Linked DNA regions of Homo sapiens: regions 1, 2 and 4 are each linked to region 3. Evidence: promoter capture Hi-C in 16 types of primary human blood cells and fetal thymus (Javierre and others, 2016). All regions are on one chromosome and are shown on one strand. Each heading gives the region's core, a stretch centred on a gene start or on the middle of the fragment in contact. The rest is flanking DNA. Distances are from core to core; before and after follow the strand shown.

The links. Contacts are between HindIII fragments. The CHiCAGO score rates a contact against its expected background, and 5 or more counts as called.
Region 1: a fragment that was not itself captured here is called in contact with the fragment with the promoter of KANK2 in region 3 in 1 of 17 cell types (endothelial precursors); the score reaches 6.8 in endothelial precursors.
Region 2: a contact is called between a fragment that was not itself captured here and the fragment with the promoter of KANK2 in region 3, in 1 of 17 cell types (endothelial precursors). The highest score is 5.5, in endothelial precursors.
Region 4: a contact is called between the fragment with the promoter of RGL3 here and the fragment with the promoter of KANK2 in region 3, in 2 of 17 cell types (M0 macrophages and neutrophils). The highest score is 7.6, in M0 macrophages.

Annotation. Positions count from the first base shown.
Region 1 is chr19:10,986,410-10,989,109 of GRCh38, reverse strand. It overlaps SMARCA4 (SWI/SNF related BAF chromatin remodeling complex subunit ATPase 4), which reads right to left. Exons shown (of 35, transcript NM_003072.5): 4 at 2,517-2,700; 5 at 2,107-2,205; 6 at 1,186-1,444. Among named protein-coding and RNA genes, the nearest start is that of SMARCA4, 27 kb to the right of the region's middle. The HindIII fragment of the contact is 1,431 bases long and covers 625-2,055 here.
Region 2 is chr19:11,054,290-11,056,989 of GRCh38, reverse strand. The region is part of intron 30 of SMARCA4 (SWI/SNF related BAF chromatin remodeling complex subunit ATPase 4); the gene reads right to left. Among named protein-coding and RNA genes, the nearest start is that of LDLR, 34 kb to the left of the region's middle. RefSeq lists an enhancer at 1-377. The HindIII fragment of the contact is 8,776 bases long and covers 1-2,700 here.
Region 3 is chr19:11,196,125-11,198,824 of GRCh38, reverse strand. It overlaps KANK2 (KN motif and ankyrin repeat domains 2), which reads left to right and starts at 1,280. Exons shown (of 13, transcript NM_001136191.3): 1 at 1,280-1,340. RefSeq lists a silencer at 797-1,416. The HindIII fragment of the contact is 22,502 bases long and covers 1-2,700 here.
Region 4 is chr19:11,418,028-11,420,727 of GRCh38, reverse strand. It overlaps RGL3 (ral guanine nucleotide dissociation stimulator like 3), which reads left to right and starts at 1,414. Exons shown (of 19, transcript NM_001035223.4): 1 at 1,414-1,482; 2 at 1,944-2,057. The coding sequence starts at 1,450. ODAD3 (outer dynein arm docking complex subunit 3) reads left to right here. Exons shown (of 13, transcript NM_145045.5): 13 at 1-123. The HindIII fragment of the contact is 8,157 bases long and covers 1-2,700 here.

The sequences.
Region 1 (2,700 bases), core at 91-2,590, 210 kb after region 3:
ACAAGATTCCTGATAGACGCGCCCAGGTCATGCCTTTTCAGTGGTGTGAGCCAGGTTCTGGCGTCAGGCGGGCCAAGGTTTTCATGCAGCTCTGGCATGGATGAGGCGCAGGGCGGTGGGAATCTATTTCAACTGCACACCTCAGCATTCTCACCTCAAAACTGAGGCAACCCCTCGGAGTGACCCTAGAGGCTTGGTCTGAAGGTTACGAAGGTTACATGCGAAGGTTATGTGGGCTAATTCTCTTAATCAGTCTTTCTGCACATACTCATTGAGCACCAACTGTATGCCAGGGACCATTTTAAGTGCAGGGCCTTAGCACTAAACAAGAACAACAAAGCAAGGAACTCTCAGTCTCATTAGAAAACACAGGCCATAAAGGAGATTTAAAAAAAATAAAATATCCACTGCAATTCCAGAGAGTGGCTGGAAGTGACAGGAAGGGCCTCCATGAGGAGGGAACCCCAGCAATCAGGCCTGAATGAGTAGAAGGAGCCATGCACAGCCTGTGCAAAGGTCCTGGGGCAGGAACAAGTCTAACTTGTTAAATAAATGAAAAGAGGAACAGAGAGACTGGGATGGGTGAGGAAGGATGCTGGGCAGGAGTGGACATAAGGCAAAGCTTATTGGGCAGATAATTGAAGCTACAGGCAGGTTTTAATCCACGGAGTAGATCTGATATCAATCATAAAAAGAGAATTCATGCCAGGTGCGGTGGCTCATGCCTGTAATCCCAGCACTTTGGGAGCATCTGAGGTCAGGAGCTCGAGACCAGCCTGACCAACATGGAGAAACCCTGCCTCTACTAAAATAAATACAAAATTAGCCAGGTGTGGTGGCGCATGCCTATAATCCCAGCTACTCAGGAGGCTGAGGCAGAAGAATCGCTTGAAGCCAGGAGATGCAGGTTGCAGTGAACCGAGATTGTGCCATTGCACTCCAGCGTGGGCAACAAGAGTGAAACTCCGTCTCAAAAAAAAAAAAAGAGAGAGAACTCAAACTGCTGTGTGGGAAACAGACCGCAGCCAGGGTGGGAGCAGGGAGGTGAGGAAGGAGGTGTAGGCCAAGTGGCAGTGGTGGGCACAGGGCACTGTTTGCTAGAGTGGGGGAGAAAGTTGAGTGGCTTCCCCAGGGGGACATGGGGGACACAGGGCAGTGACCTTGGCAACTGGGCCCCGCCCTCACCTGTACTCGCGCTCCTGCAGGATCTCCACAGGGTCGAGGCCCCGCGGCTTCTGGATGGGGGTGATGCGGCTCTGCTTCTGGTGCAGTGGCACCATGGGCGCGGGCTGGGCCGGCTGCCCGGGGGACTGGGTCTGCGGTGGCATCACGGGCGAGGCGGCGGGTGGGACGGCAGGGGGCGCGGGGGAAGGGCGGCCCGTTGGCTGCGGGGGAATCAGCTTCTGAGGGGTGCTCGTGGGGGCAGCAGCATTCGCCATGGGTCCTGGGAGAAGGCAAGGGGCCAGGGCGTCATGTTGAGCTCTGGGGCCCATCCCGGGCTGGAAATGGAAAGCTGCTGAGCTGCTTGAGGCACTGGGGACAGGCAGACCCCGCCCATCTCCCACCTTTCACCCAGGGGTGTCCTTCACACCTGCCTTGGGCTCCAACCTCCTCCAGATCTCAGCCTCACCCTCGTCCTTCACACCCTCCACTGGGGCCAGCCCCAGGCTCCCAAGGCCTTTTTGTTCTGTCTGTGGCTCTATGGCAGCATTTCCTGTCATCTCCTCCTAGTGCCAACTAAATCCAGTGGAAGCAATTTGCCCCTCAATGCCCATCGCTAAACCTCAGGCTCCAAGAGGATGGGTAATGAGTCCCACTGCCTCTTTGAGCCCAACAGATGGGAGCCTGCAGCACTTACTGAGCAATTACATATACAGGGCTCAGGGACTGGGTGAAGGCCACAAGCTGTCAGAGGAGGGATGAACGACAGCCTTTGGGAACTGACTGGCTACAGGGGAGACCCGGGGACCACCACAAGAAAAGTACAGGCTGCAGTTCAGCCTGACCACCCTCGGCCCTTTCTCCCTGACAAAGCTCATCTCAAGGACCCAAGCTTGAGATGGGGAGTAAGGGCACGGGTGCACCACCATAGAAGAGGGAGCTCACCTTCAGGCCAGGGCTTGGGAGGCCCTCCAGGAGGCTGGCCTGGCATCCCGGGGGGCACGCCCGAGGGTCCTGGGGGAGGCATGTTGGGCCCTCCCATACCTACATGTAGGGAGAAACAAAAGAGAAAACAGTGCGTCCCAGGTTTATGCCTGCGCCCAGCCCCGTGGGCAGCCCTGGCTCCAGGGGACACAGCAGATACACCTATTAACCAGCGGCCCCAGGGGAAGCGGGGAGCTGGGGAAGCAGCATTTAGCTGCCCCCACCACCCGAGCACCCAGAAGTGCAGTATGGGCCCGTGCAATCCCAAACCGGGGAACCCAGTCGGCAACAGAGCACGGTCTGTCCACCCCGCCACCCACGCCCCAGCCATTCGCTCTGAGACACCTGAGGGCCAGGGCAGCCAGTCTTACCATGAGGCCTGCTGTAATTTGGAGGTGCCGGGCCGGGACCCGGGCCGGGGCCAGGGCCAGGGCCAGGGCCGGGTCCTGTTGCGGACACCGAGGGTGGAGGTAGCGTTGGCATCTGCTGCTGCATCCCGGGCATCGGCCGCTTGCCCTGCACCGCCATCTGCAGGTGGTCGGGGAGGGGCTGCCC
Region 2 (2,700 bases), core at 60-2,559, 140 kb after region 3:
GCAGGGCAGCCCGCCCATGCCACTGGCTGGCCCCGCCGTCTGTTTGGGTGTCCTGAGTGCGCCTTGTCTTGCTTCTGTTTACCACGCTGGAAAATGGCAGCGACAACATGGTGGCTTCCCTGGTTCTGTTGCTGGGGTCCTGATGTCACCAAGGGGCAGACGGGCCAGGCTTGCCTCCAGGAAGCTGCTCGTGAGCAGGATCCCGGAAGGCCTCCTGCTTGTTTGGTGTTTGTGTGCATCACGAAGCCCCTGACCCAGCTTCTAACATGAGAGCCTCCTGAGATGCAGACGTTACACACGGGAGCCAGAATCCTGTCCCTGCACCTCCCCTGGCCTTGACAACCGCCATCATCCCCTGCTTGCTGGGCCAGCCACACTTTACACACACTAAACTCTGAAGCAGGCACCAGTGCCAGGCCAGCCGTGCTGAGGAGGAAATTGAGGTGGGAGTGAATCTCCTGGCCTGGACACAGCCCGCCTTGAGCCTCTGCCTTCCAGGAGTGTCCTTCCCCAACGTGTGTTCATGAAGTACATCTCCCCATCTCCTGCCAGGAGGTGTTTTTGGTCCTGGGTGTGGGACCAGCCGGTCCAGCATGGGAGCACATACCCTTCTCAGACTGCATTCCCATCGTGGGCCCTCCCTGGAGGCACAGGCTTCCTTTTTCCTATGAGCGGGCTGGTGGCCGGCTCTGCCACAGGCAACTGTTGGTAAACCCAGTCCACAGGCTCAGAAAATAAGAACACACAGTGGATGCGCTTGCTGCTCGGTGACCCTGGAGAAAGACACGACTCCCCTCTGAGTCGGGAAATGTGTGTCCCATCTGCAGCTCGGGCAGAGCGGGCCTGTACCTCTTCCCTCTCCTAAGCCGGCACATCCTGTTCTCCACTCTACGGAATTTTATAAGCAAAGAGCTCTCCTCTCTCTTCATGATGGCAGCATCCACCCTATACCTGTTACAATAAGGCACAGCAAGAGTTGCGCTTTACACTGTGAAGCAGGACGTGCAGCACAGGCAGGGGCAACAGAAGAACCCCAATGCGATAGTCTCTTCTATGAAAAGCAGCGCGCTTTGCCATTTTCCATTCTATTACATTTTTAAAGATATGGTGGCTCGTGCCTGTAATCCCAGCACTTTGGGAGGCCAACGTGGGAGGATTGCTTGAGCCCAGGAGTTTGAGACCAGCCTGGACAACATGGCAAAACCCCATTTCTATTTGACTGGGGGAAAAAAAAGCCAGTTTTGTGATCCATTCAATGCCCTTAGTGGCCAGCAAACAGTGCAGACTCTTGGCTTGAAACGCCCTGCCCTGTGGCCATGGGGGGCTTACTGCACACTGTGGCCCTTGCCCTGGAGGGCGGCTCCCTATGCAGAGAGCCCAGGAAGTGAGACCCCAGGGCTGTGACAGCAGAAGGCTTTATAATAAGCACCCCACCACCCCAACAGCCACCTCCATCAGGCTAATGAGAAACAGCTACAGGCAGCAAAAAAAAAACAAGGTGCGGCTGGGCGCAGTGGCTCACGCCTGTAACCCCAGAACTTTGGGAGGCTGAGGTGGGTGGATCACGAAGTCCGGAGTTCAAGACCAGCCTGGCCAAGATAGTGATACCCCGTCTCTACTAAAAATACAAAAATGAGCCAGGCGTGGTGACAGGCACCTGCAATCCCAGCTACTCGGGAGGCTGAGGCAGGAGAATCACCTGAACCTGGGTGGCAGAGGTTGCAGTGAGCCGAGATCGCACCACTGCATTCTAGCCTGGGCGACAGAGTGAGACTCTGTCTCAAAAAACAAACAAAAACAAAACACAAAACCAAGGTACAAGAGCACCCCTTCCCAGACCTCTAGGAGAATTACGTTCTGGATGAATCAAGACCACCCAGTTGCCGGTCTGAGGATTCCGCTCTGGTGCAGAGTTCCCTGGAGGTCCTGTCCTCAGGCTTCCCTGCAACAGGCAGGGTGCTGAGAGCCTCCCTCACCTCTATATTAAAGAGGGACATGCTGCAGCCTCCCCGCACTTGGAATGAAACCCGGAGTCCTCTGGATAGGCGCCACCACCTTTGATGTCAGTGCCCCTAGCTCCGCTCCCATGCTCGTGTCAAGGCCTACAAAGGGGAGTCCACCCCCATGGGAATGTGGGCTCTGACCTCATCTCAGGGCAAACATCACCTCCTCTGACCCCCACACACACCCAGCCCACACCTCTTAATAGCTGACTTAACACCAATGCACACATCATGCAGTGGCGTGATCTCGGCTCACTGCAACCTCTGCCTCCAGGGTTCAAGCGATTCTCCTGCCTCAGCCTCCAAGTAGCTGGCATTACAGGTGCACCACCACACCTAGCTAATTTTTGTATTGTTAGTAGAGACGGGTTTCACCATGTTGGTCAGGCTGGTCTCGAACTCCTGACCTCCTGATCCACCCACCTTGGCCTCCCAAAAGTGCTGGGATCACAGGCTGAGCCACCGCACCTGGCCCAATGCACAGATCTTAAGCATGAGGCTAAAGATGCGCTCCTGTCAGTCCTTCCCCCAGGGATGATCCTGGGCCGAGGTTGGCTGCTTCTTCAAGTTGATGATGCAGAAACACACAGGGGAGCCCCCAAACCTGGCCTGGCCTCCTGCCTCCTTGCTGTCCCTGTTGCCGAGTGCAGCAGCAGGTCCCGAGGTGGGCACACACCAGCCATGCCCAGTTCCCGCT
Region 3 (2,700 bases), core at 31-2,530:
ACGGCAACCTCCACCTCCCAGATTCAAGTTATTCTCATACCTCAGCCTCCCGAGTAGCTGGGATTACAGATGTGCACCACCATGCCAGGATAGTTTTTGTATTTTTAGTAGAGAAGGGGTTTCACCATGTTGGCCAGGCTGGTCTTGAACTCCTGACCTCAGATGATCCACCCACCTCGGACTCCCAAAGTGCTGGGATTACAGGCATGAGCCATTTCTCGGCCCCAGGTGGTTTTTTGTATTTTGTTTTTTGTAGAGATGGCGTCTTACCATATTGCCAAAGCTGGTCTCCAACTCCTTGGCTCAAATAATCCGCCCACCTTGGCCTCCCAAAGTGCTACGATTACAGGCATGAGCCACTGCGCCTGGCCTAATTTTTTTTCACTTAAAAATTTTTTTGCATAGACAGGGTCTTGCTATGTTGCCCAGGCTGGTCTCGAACTCCTGAGTTCAAGCAGTCCTCTTGCCTTGGCCTCCCTAAGCACTGAGATTACAGGTGTGAGCCACCTCGCCGGCTTAATAATATTTATTAAGCCCTTGCTGAGTGGCTGGCTGTGTACTAAAAGGGCTCCCAGAAAGATCTCTGCAAAAGTAGGCCACTCCATTTATGAGAGTTTTTAACCCGAAGGGCCTCCTTCCTGATGGTTAGGCCCCTTCCTAATGGTCAGTGAATCTTCTCAACGCTCCTATCAGGTAGCTAACATGATCATCTCCATTTTACAGATGAATAAACTGAGGCACAGAGCAGCAAAAGTTTGGTGGGTCTGGGATGGGAATGCAGGTCTGGCTGGCGCCGGCGCCCAGGACTCTGCAGCCTCCCTTCTCGCGCGGCGGTCACGCCACCGTGTGCCAGGACTGCGCTGGGCCGCTTCCAGCCCTGGGCCGCCTGGGGGAGGGGTGACCTCCCGCTGCCGCGCCCGCCCCGCGCGCCCTCCCCGAGCTGGGCCCCGGCCAGCTCCACCCCCTCCCGCCGCCGAGCCGTTCCGCCCCCCGCAGCGGCCCAGGGACAGCAGGCGGTGGGGGGGAGGCCGGCAGTGGGAGGACCCTGCCTCGGGGACTTAGGGAGGAAGGAAGGACGAGGCCGGACACCCCGGCGCGCACACACACCTGCTGTCCAGGTGAGATCCAGTCTCCAACCAGCGTCTCTCCATCCCCACCCCCCACCGCGGCCGGGGCGCCCGGGCGGCTGGAGGGGGCGGTGCCGGCTGGGGGGGCGGGACCAGCCGGAGGGGGCGTGGTGCGGGCGGAGCCACCTCCGAGGGCCGGGCGCCCAGGCTGCGGCGCGCGCGAAGACGCTCGGGCGGCGGGACCCAGGGAAGGCAGCGGCCGGAGCGCGCAAGGCGAGTGGGACCCGGGGCTGGGTAGGGGTTCAAGTCTGGTTCGGGGATCGAGTGTGCACCCCCTCCACACACACCTACTACCCTACCCCCCGCCTCCAACCCTGGGACACGACCTCGCTGGTCTCAACGAGCCGCTGCCTCCAACTCCACCTTCTGTGCCCAAACTTTCCAGACTTGGAGTGTCTGTCCCCGCGTCCCTGCCCCCTCCTCGTCTTTGACCCCATACCCCCATCGATTCCTCCCAGTACCCCCCATCGATTCCTCGTGCCCTGCCCGTTTCTCCTGTCTTGGCTCCCCTCTGCCCGCTCTCCCCTGTCTCTGTCCCACTTTCTGCCTCTGTTCCTCCCCGGCTCTGCCCTCTCCCCGCACTGTCCCCCCTCGCCCTCCTCCGCGGCCATGCCCCAGACGGCGGGAAGGCGGCCGGGCGTCCGGCCGGGCTGGGCCTGGGCTTGGCGGCTGGGCCGGCGTGGGGAGCGGCAGCTGTTTGCCATTAGCCCGGGATCCCACAGGCCCCGCCCCCTCTCTGCACGGGGCGGGGTCCTTCTCGCCTCCCCCCACCCCGAGTTTGGGGCGGGAAGACCCCCCCCCACCACCACCACCGACCTCCGCGATGTGCAGGCCGGTCTTGGGTGGTGGGTTGGGGAGACCCGCGCCCCTTCCCTGCGCTCCCTACCTGTCCCCTCTTATAGGCTCCAGTCTCTCCATCTCTGTCTTATCCTGTCACCCCTTCCCCATTCCCCAGGGGTCCCATGGCGAGAGAAGGGTCTCAGCCACAGACATCCATCTCCCCCACCACACCCCCTCGTCTCCTTTCTCTTCCCCTTACTCGGGACGTGCTGGTCCTCATCGAGGGCGGTGAGATGACTGAGTACCCTCAGACCTCAGTCTCCGTATCTGGGAAACGGGTAGAGATATCTGATGTGGAGTCTGAGGGTGGTGGCTTGGTGGGCAGTGGGGGGATCCACCAGGCTTAGGTTCATGTTCAGGCCCAGCCACTTCCCCATGGCCCCAGTGACCCCGAGGAAGCCACTGTACCTTTCTGTACCCTCTGCATCCCCTGTCTGTGAAACGGGGCGATAAGTGCCCATCTCATAGAATTGTCATGACAATTAAAAGAGTTGATGTTAGGCTGGGTGCAGTGGCTCATGCCTGTAATCCCAGCACTTTGGGAGGCCAAGGCGGGCGGATCACCTGAGGTCAGGAGTTCGAGACCAGCCTGACCAACATGGAGAAACACCATCTCTACTAAAAATACAGAATTAGCTAGGCGTGGTGGCAGGTGCCTGTAATCCCAGCTACTCAGGAGGCTGAGGCAGGAGAATCGCTTGAACCTGGGAGGCAGAGGTTGCCGTGAGCTGAG
Region 4 (2,700 bases), core at 165-2,664, 220 kb before region 3:
GAACGGAGGCGGCCAGCGGCGCCCGGAGGGGAGGAAGGGGCCGGGCCAGACGTTCCCACAGTAAATCTCCCCAGCTGGGTCCGCCCCGGCCTCAGAGTTGCGCAATAAATGTTACCGACCATGCCCCTGGGTATTCATCTGTTTTTGACCCTGCACCACCCAAGAGACGGCTGTCCCTGAAAACCCAGGGCCACAGACTGCCTCCTCCAACCTGGGTCATGATGACTCCCATCAGCTAGTGACGCAGATGGAGCTTAAAAATGGGAGATGGCCCGATGTAGTGGTTTTATGCCTGTAATCCCAGTATTTTGGGAGGCTGAGTTGGGAGGATCACTTGAGTCCAGGAGCTCCAGGCTGCAGTGAGCTATGATCGTGCTACTGCACTCCAGCCTGGGCCACAGAGCCAGACCCTGTCTCAATAAATAAAATAAGGGCGGGGTGCAGTGGCTCATTCATACCTATATTCCCAGCACTTTGGGAGGCTGAGCTGGGTGTGTCGCTTGAGCCCAGGGGTTCCAGACTAGCCTGGGCAACATGGTGAAAACCAGTTTTTACCAAAAAAAAAAAAAAAAAAAAAAAAAAAAAAAAAAAAGCTGAGCATGGTGGCATATGCCTGTAGTCCCAGCTACTTGGGAGACTGAGGCAGGAGAATGGATTGAACCCAGGAGGCGGAGATTGCAGTGAGCCAAGATCAAGCCACTGCACTGCAGCCTTGGCAACAGGAGTGAGACCCTGTCTCTAAAAAATAATAAGGCTGGGCGCCGTGGTTCATGCCTGTAATCCCAGCATTTTGGGAGGCTGAGGTGGGCGAATCTCTTGAGGCCAGGAGTTTGAGACCAGCCTGGCAAGTATGGCAAAACCCCGCCTCTACAAAAAATACAAAAATTAGCTGAGCATGGTGGCGGCACCTGTAATCCTAGCTACTTGGGAGGCTGAGGCACAAGAATCCTTTGAATCTGGGAGGCGGAGGTTGCAGTGAGTTAAGATCAAGCCACTGTACTCCAGCATGGGTGACAGAACGAGACTCCATCTCAAAATAATAGCAATAATAATAAAAAGTGGAAGATGCCCCCACACTTGATCAAGCTAGCCCCTTCCACTGGAGGACAGAGGACTCTGGTCTGGGGACACACACATGCCCCCACACAGGAGCTCCCCCACATCTGGGGATACAAAAAAGACCCCTTGGGGACAGATATGTCCTTTCTTCTGGGGACAGATTGATAGGCACCCAGCGGAAGAGCCAGGACCTCTCCTGGGCTGGCGCTGGGTCCGGCTGGAGGCACCCAGAGGCTGGGTCCGGCCTGCCCTGCCCCGCCCCGCCCCAGCAGCTCGGCCGCTCCGCCCCTCTGGCCTCAGCGCCCGGCCACTGCCCGCCGCCCGCCACCCGCCACCCGCCGGCCCTTCCGCCTCACTCAGCGGCGCCACTGAGAGGGACGGGCGCCGGCCATGGAGCGCACAGCAGGCAAAGAGCTGGCCCTGGTAAGGGGACAAGGGATCCCCGGACCCCGCATCCCTGGTGACCCGCAGGTCCAGAAACTCCAAGCGCCCGCCCGTCGGACGGTATCTGCTCCCAATCTGAACTTGCCCTGGAGTCCCCTCCTGGGGACTCGCGGCCCTTGACCCAGTGAAGCGACTGGTTCCTCTTAGGGATGGGGGCGCGAGTCTCTGAGCGCAGTCGGCAGAAAGAGCTAGAGACAGGTTCTATTAGACTGGGCCCTGGGACATCCCCAAATGCCACCCCATGTCCTCAGGACCTGGGAGGAGGGGACCCGCAGCGAGGAGGGGACTAGCCTGGGACCCCAGCCCTAGTCTCGCAGCTTCTGGCCGGGAAGGGGCGTGGGGATGCAGCAGGAGGACTCGGCCCGAGTCCGAGCGGCCAAGGAGGCTGAGGCCCCAGGACCTGTGCCCCTTTGGTGCCCTGAGTCCGCCTGTGCGTCCAGGCACCGCTGCAGGACTGGGGTGAAGAGACCGAGGACGGCGCGGTGTACAGTGTCTCCCTGCGGCGGCAGCGCAGTCAGCGCAGGAGCCCGGCGGAGGGCCCCGGGGGCAGCCAGGTGAGGAGGGGGTTTGGTGGGTGGCGCGGGGCCGGAAGCGACCAGTTGAGGGCGGAGCTGGAGAGCCGAGCACAGGCCGCCAGGTGCAGTGGGCGGAAGGAAGGGAGGGGCTCGGAGGCGACCAGATGAGGCGACCAGGTAGAAAGGGGACTGGGGGCGGCCAGGTAAGTGGGGGGAGATCCAGGGAATGGGGTGGGGCCAGGCGATGGCCGCGCAGTTCCCGAGAGGAGCCTAGGGACAACTTGGTAAGGACAGAACTGGACGGCAGAGTTGGGAAAGGCAGGTTTAGAGGGCCGGGGCTGGAAGGTGGAATGGGGTTGGTTTAGAAGTGGCTAGGTGAGGGCGGATGGGGCAGCCAGTGAAGCGCGACAGGAGGGCTGAGGGAAGCCCTGGGTGGAAAAGAGTGTGTGGGGCGGGGGCGGGGGGGTGGGGGGAGGGGACGGGAGGGGGAGGGGACGGGAGAGGGAGTAGGGGACAGGGCATGGGAGAGGGAGGGTTTCCAGGGCAAGTTGCAGGAGCTATTTGTGGATGGGGAGGAACAATAACTTCAAGCGGGCAGGGAGTGGGGCACACACCTATAATCCCTGCGCTTCGAGAGACCAAGGCAGAAGGCCAGGAATTGGAGACCAGCCTGGACAACACA